2 separate regions of the Homo sapiens genome follow, and region 1 is linked to region 2. The links are contacts of gene promoters, found by promoter capture Hi-C in blood cells and fetal thymus (Javierre and others, 2016). All regions are on one chromosome and are shown on one strand. Each heading gives the region's core, a stretch centred on a gene start or on the middle of the fragment in contact. The rest is flanking DNA. Distances are from core to core; before and after follow the strand shown. Region 1 overlaps SNRPD2 (small nuclear ribonucleoprotein D2 polypeptide). Region 2 holds the start of VASP (vasodilator stimulated phosphoprotein).

The links. The method cuts DNA at HindIII sites, captures the fragments that hold promoters and counts their contacts. A CHiCAGO score of 5 or more calls a contact.
Region 1: a contact is called between a fragment that was not itself captured here and the fragment with the promoter of VASP in region 2, in 12 of 17 cell types (naive CD4 T cells, total CD8 T cells, naive CD8 T cells and 9 more). The highest score is 15.7, in naive CD4 T cells.

Annotation. Positions count from the first base shown.
Region 1 is chr19:45,686,140-45,689,202 of GRCh38, reverse strand. It overlaps SNRPD2 (small nuclear ribonucleoprotein D2 polypeptide), which reads left to right. Exons shown (of 3, transcript NM_001384647.1): 2 at 637-816; 3 at 1,476-1,743. The coding sequence ends at 1,650. Among named protein-coding and RNA genes, the nearest start is that of SNRPD2, 4.3 kb to the left of the region's middle. The HindIII fragment of the contact is 8,456 bases long and covers 1-3,063 here.
Region 2 is chr19:45,506,090-45,509,617 of GRCh38, reverse strand. It overlaps VASP (vasodilator stimulated phosphoprotein), which reads right to left and starts at 2,139. Exons shown (of 13, transcript NM_003370.4): 1 at 1,842-2,139. The coding sequence starts at 1,846. It overlaps LOC107985314 (a long non-coding RNA gene), which reads left to right and starts at 2,244. Exons shown (of 2, transcript XR_007067269.1): 1 at 2,244-2,933. RefSeq lists silencers at 75-204, 1,015-1,214, 1,809-1,988, 2,669-2,798, 2,829-3,078 and enhancers at 2,139-2,408, 1,690-2,474. The HindIII fragment of the contact is 2,487 bases long and covers 888-3,374 here.

The DNA.
Region 1 (3,063 bases), core at 108-2,607, 180 kb before region 2:
TGTAGGATGTGAGGGAAAAAGAGGAATCAAGTTGACAAAAGAGTTTTTGCCCAGAGAACTAGAAGGATGGAGTTACCATCAAAGCAGATGGGGAACGCTGTAGATAGGGTAGGCTTGGGTGGTTGGGTGATCTGGATCCCGACCTGAGACATGCAGAGTTGAAAATGTCTGGCTGGGCACGGTGGCTCACGCCTATAATCTCAGCACTTTGGGAGGTCGAGGCGGGTGGATCACAAGGTCAAGAAATCAAGACCATCCTGGCCAACATGGTGAAACCCCCTGTTTACTAAAATACAAAAATTAGCTGGGCGTGGAGGTGGTGCATGCCTGTAGTCCCAGCTCCTCAGGAGGCTGAGGCAGGAGAATCGCTTGAACCCAGGAGGCAGAGGTTGCAGTGAGCCGAGATCACATCACTGCGCTCCAGCCTGGGCAACAGATCAAGACTCCGTCTCAAAAAAAAAAAAAATGTCTGTTAGGCATCTAGCTGATGATACTCAGAAGGCTGAACAGGAGGACAGATGTGGTGGGACAAGGTTGGGGAGACACTGAAGCCAAGGCCCTGATCACCCATCCTCACAGCTCCAGCCTCTCAACTCCAGCCTCTCTCACTTATTGGTTCCATGTTTGTCCATGCAGGAGCCTCCTCAACAAGCCCAAGAGTGAGATGACCCCAGAGGAGCTGCAGAAGCGAGAGGAGGAGGAATTTAACACCGGTCCACTCTCTGTGCTCACACAGTCAGTCAAGAACAATACCCAAGTGCTCATCAACTGCCGCAACAATAAGAAACTCCTGGGCCGCGTGAAGGCCTTCGATAGGTGAGTGCTGGGTCCTGGGAGGTGTTCTCCGCAGGCCTGGAGAGGCCACTCCAGCTCCAGTCTGAAGAGCTCAAAGACAGCTGTCTCAGAAGCCTGGGGTGTATGGCCAGGCGTGGTGGCTCATGCCTGTAATCCCAGCACTTTGGGAAGGCAAGGCGGGTAGATCACCTGAGGTCAGGAGTTCAAGACCAGCTTAGCTAAAATGGCGAAACCCCATCTCTACTAAAAATATAAAAGCCAGGCGTGGTGGTGCACGCCTGTATTCACAGCTACTCAGGTGGCCGAGGCACAAGAATAGCCTGAACCCAGGAGGCGGAGGTTGTGGTGAGCTGAAATCGCACCACTGCATTGCAGCCTGGGCAACAGAGTGAGATTCTGTCTCAAAAAAGAAAATGATAATTTTCAATGGCCCTGTGAGGAAGGTAACGTGATTATCTTCCCTCTTAAAAAGGAGCAAACTGGCACAGAGAGGTGCAGTCCTTTGCCTCAGCCTCAACCTAAGGACTGGCAGAGTTGCTTTGGCAGCTTGGTCATCCCGGCCTAGCACCTGCACCCTTCCCCAAGCCATGCTGCTGGAGGGGGCGAGCAGCAGGCAGTAGGGGGCACTGTCAGAGGCACGCCCCTCACGCCCAGTGCCTCCCCTCCCTGTTCCCCACCAGGCACTGCAACATGGTGCTGGAGAACGTGAAGGAGATGTGGACTGAGGTACCCAAGAGTGGCAAGGGCAAGAAGAAGTCCAAGCCAGTCAACAAAGACCGCTACATCTCCAAGATGTTCCTGCGCGGGGACTCAGTCATCGTGGTCCTGCGGAACCCGCTCATCGCCGGCAAGTAGGGGCCGCCTGTCTGTTGACAGAACTCACTCCTCTGTCCTATGAAGACCGCTGCCATTGGTGTTGAGAATAATAAAGCTCTGTGTTTTTTTCTAGTGGTATCTGTTTCCAGAGCCTTGGGAGTGGGGTGGATTCAGGAGGGCTTGGGGGAGGCAGCTGGTATCGGACTGAATGGTGGGAGCAGGACCCCTGAGCAAGTGGAGAGGCCCTGGCTCTGCCCCATCGAGGCCTCACTTTCTCCATCTGCAAAGCAAACAGTTTGCATGGAAATGAGCGCCCAGTTGTGGCTCTGGAGAACATTTTAGCTCTCCTGCTTTAATCTTCCTGAGCTTCTCCTTGTCACTCTGTTGCTCTCTTCTCTACCTCTTATAATGAATTGGCCTCGCTTGACCAAAGTATCTTTTGGGGCCAGGCATGGTGGCTCACACCTGTAATCCCAGTACTTTGGGAGGTGGAGGCGGGCAGATCACCTGAGGTCAGGAATTCGAGACCAGCCTGGCCAACATGGTAAAACGCTGTCTCTACTAAAAATACAAAAACTGGCCGGGCGTGGTGTCTCACACCTGTAATCCCAACACTTTGGGAGGCCAAGGCGGGTGGATCACCTGAGGTCAGGAGTTTGAGATCAGCCTGGCCAACATGGTGAAACCCCGTCTCTACTAAAAATACAAAAATTAACAGGGCATGGTGGCAGGCACCTGTAATCCCAGCTACTCAGGAGGCTGGGGCAGGAGAATTGCTTGAACCCCGGAGATGGAGGTTGCAGTGAGCTGAGATGGCCCCACTGTACTGTAGCCTGGGTGACAGAGTGAGACTCCATCTCAAAAATTATATATGTGTATCTTTCAGCCTTTCTTTATGTTTGTTCCTTCAGCAAACATCCCCCAAATGCCCCCTGTGTGTCCAGCCCTGTGTTGCAGTGCAGGGGCACCAGGTACCCAGGAGCCTCTGGTCTGCCCTGAAAGACAGGAGGATTAGACAGGTGATGAACGCAGTCAGTGCCACCAGCACAGCGGCTGAGGTGAGAGCATTGCTTAAGCCCAGAAGTTTAGGACTAGCCTGGGAGAATGGTTGTGAGTTTTATAGACAGTGTGATACTATCTCTAAACTAAATAGATAAGAAACAGAAAAAAGGGCCGGGTGCAGTGGCTCACACCTGTAATCCCAGCACTTTGGGAGGCCAGGCGGGTGGATCACCTGAGCTCAGGAGTTTGAGACCAGCCTGGCCAACGTGGTGAAACCCTGTCTCTACTAAAAATACAAAATTAGCCAGGCATGGTGGTGCACGCCTGCGGTCCCAGCTACCTGGGAGGCTGAAGCAGGAGAATAGCTTGAACCAAGAGACGGATGTTGCACTGAGCTGAGATCGCGCCACTGCACTCCAGCCTGGGCAACAGATTCTAAGACTACCTCTC
Region 2 (3,528 bases), core at 890-3,389:
CCCACAAGACGGGATGCTTGGCCACCACCACAGCAAGAGGTGGGCCTTGTGGGAGGGCCAGGGCTTCCAGGGCTGGTGCTGGTGGTGGTGGTGGTGGTGGGGAGGACAGGGGGCCGGCCCAGACACCGCTCCTGCCCTTTTACGGTTGCAGTGAGTGAGGCAGCACTAACTCGGACATCCGCCATCCGCCTTCCACCGAGCCTGGGACCGGAAACGCGAGGGGGGGTGGAGGGGCGGGGCTGGGGGGCAAGGGGAGAGAAGAGTCCCGGAGGAAGAGGGCGAAGGAAGAGAGCGACGCTCCCTAAACTGACCCCTCTCCAGGGCGGACTTGGAAGGGATGTTGCTATAATGGGGAGCGGATAGGCAGGAAGTCTTGAGGGTATCTGTGGGTGTCCTCCTTGCTCCAAATTTTCCAGCCATGCCTTTCACATCAGAAGGAACAAACGCGGGAGGGGGATTCTCTAGTGGTCATAAAAAGGAATGCCACGCCACTCCGATGTCAAAGGGCAGGGGTTCAGGAAATGCGGGGGATGTGGGCACCACGGGGTTAATCCCCAACCGTCCCCAGGGGCCTCCCTGCTCAGGCTGGGGGCTTTGGGGCAGGAAGTCCCAGAGAGAGTAGAGGAAGGGAGATAGTATTGTCAGGCTCTGGCCCCATGGGAGAGATTATGGGGGGCCAGGGGAGGGAAGAATAGGGGGGATGGTTGGGCCCCCCTGCCCACACTGGCCCCGCCCTCAGGTGAGCCCAGGAGTTCGGGGGAGGCCCCGGCCAGACCAAATCCCTGGGTCCCTTGGGCCGCCACCCCCAGGATTAAATTCCTGGGAAGATAGCTGGAATTATCTGGGAAGCCTGGGTCCCTAGGGAAGAGGGCTATGACCTTGAAGCTTTCCAGCTCCCCCTCCTCCAACCCCAAGGCTCCGGGTGGATAGGGGGACGGTGAGCAAAGGGGGAGGGGCCGTGGTGGGGAAGGCAGCCGGCCTACAGCGCTTGGTGCCCGCCCCCCACACCAGCTGTCTCGACAGGTGAGTCAGGAAGACAAAGGCCCCCTTCCCCCAGCTGCCGCGCCCCCTCCCTCTCCAGGGCCGCGCAGGTGGGGGAGCCGGGCCGCCCTTATGGCCGGAGGCGGGGAGCCGCCCTCTGCTCCGAGCGCCCGCTCGGTCCTAGGCACGGCCAGTTAAGCAGATTGTGTGCGGAGCGACGGGGAAGGGGGGGGTCCCACCAGACTCTGGAGGCTGCGTCCAGGTCCCTGGATCGGTTCACACCAGCCTCCTCCACAGGAAGACCTAAGTGACCCCCAAAATCCAGGGGATTAAGAAGTACCCCCGAAGTTATGGAGCGCGGTCCCACTTGGGGAGACTTTTTCCAGCACCAAGTAAACGGGGGACCTGCACACCCAGGGTCTGAGTCTCAGTCTCTCTTCCAAGTCCCAGGGTATCCCAAATCGGTCCCCCACAATCCTTCCCGGACCTCGAGCTGAAGTCTGGGGGGAGGGGGAGGAGAGTCTGAGCCCTGCCTCAATCCTGGCATCCCTGCGGGGAGTCGCTGCCAACTTTGAGGTCCTCTAAAAAAAGTCTTAACAATTCGGGAGTCCTCCGAGCGCCCCCAAATCTTGAGGGCTCCCAGGAGAACCTCACCGCCACCACCCCCCGAGCTTGGGGAGTCAGTCGTGGAGAAGTGATCGACGGTTCTGGGGCGCGTCCAAGGGGATTCAGCTCAAATCCGAGGCTCCCAAGGATCTGTCCCCAAATTCCAGCCCGGAGCTAGCTGGGGGGGAGGGGGACAAAGGCGGGGCGCGGAGCCCGCCCGGGCGGGGACGGGTCGGGGGGCAGGTCCGGCTCACCTCATGGCTGCTCGGCGGGCGGGCGGCTCGCCCACGGGCTGGCTGCTCCCGGGGCGCCCCTGGCTGGAGGTTCAGGGGTTCGGGGCTGGCTCCGGGCTCGGCTCAGGCTCCCCCAGGGTCCCGCCCCATAGAGTCCGGCTTCCTGGGGAGAATGTGGACCGGGCCGGGGCGGGTCTCCGGGCGCCGCTTCCCTCAGGCGGTCTGATGAGAGGTTCCTGCAGCAGAAAGGGGATGCAGCGTCCGCTCCCCAGCGCGCACCCCTTGCCGGTGGCGGCTACAGTGTTACTCTTACTACTGTACTTCTCTTCGTTACATTTCGTTCCAAAATTCCACTCCCCGCACCCACAATGCCCCGCGCCTTAAAGGGGCCGCGTGCGCCTCCAGGCGAGGGGGTGGAGGGCGCTTAAAAGGGCAACTCTGCACCCTCGGCTTCCGCGATCTCGCTCCTCTCCCCAATGTTGTAGCCCAGGGGTGCACCCTGGGAATCACCCCCACCTGAGGGGCAAGTTGGTGAAGGGGAAGGGGACCTCCCTTGCTTCCTAGTTCGCTCCCACTGTGGGAATTCTGAGGAGGGTCTCGGAAGGGGCGCGATTTCTTTCCCCATCGACTTCTCCATCTCGTACTCCGCTCAATTTTGGGGGTCGAGGAGGACCCTCAAGTTAAGCAAGTGGTCTCAGATTTTCTCCCTGAAATCCCATCTTCGGAACACCGCCCCTCCCCAGCGTTTCTCTTCTGTCAATTTCGGAGAGGTTACTAAGGGGGCGAGACCCCCACCCGCACGGGAGTGGAAGTCGGGGGAGTAGGGCCCAACCCCTCTCACCCCACCCCGCCCGCCCCGGGAAGGTGAGGAGGAAGTGGGCCAAGGGGGCGCGGTCGGTCGCTGACTCACAGCCGCAGGGTCGGGGGTGGGGTGGGGTGGAGGTGGGGACTGGCGAGGAGTGCGGGAGTGGGGGGCCCGGCATTCGCCCGGGGTGGGCAGGAGGCGCCGGCTTCTTTGGTGTGTAAAGCCTCCGGCCCACGCACGCCCCGCTCTGACTCAGTTTCGCCTGCGGAGGACAGCAGGATCATCCCAGCCCTCAGGAGGGCCCGGAGGTGAGGAGACCCTCCCGGGAGCCCCCGCCCCCACACGCCGGCTCCGGGCTGAGCCCAGACACCCTCTGAGGCTTCCGCAGCGTGTCTTGCCGGCCCCGCCCCGAGTGACGTCACTGATTTGGTCGCGCCCCTTGGGTAGAGCGCCACCTGGCCCGGGTGAGGCGCCCGAGCCCTGGGAAATCAGTTAGTTCCACATTTACACACGGGTAAACTGAGGCCTGGAGACAGGGAATGAATCTGGCCTATGGCCCTCTTGCCTGAGCCCCCAGAACCCGGAAAGCCACCAAGGTCTGAGTGTAAAACCAACAATTCTCAGGGCCAGCTGACTATGTGAGAGAATCCACTTTTCCAGCGTATGTCCAAGCCGAGTCCCATGTCCGGATGTTGATGTTGTCCTGACCTCCTTTACCTGGGGAGCACGTCATCCTTCCAGGCCAAGCTTTGACATTAATTCCCCTCCCCTTCTCCACCCCACTCTGGGAGACCTTGAACCCTGTTCCTCGGAGGTTATCATTGTTTCTCAGTGTGTTTCCTCAGGCTGAGTTGTCTGGGAGAATGGGTAGACTAAATTTCTTTTTTTCTTTTTTTTTTTTTG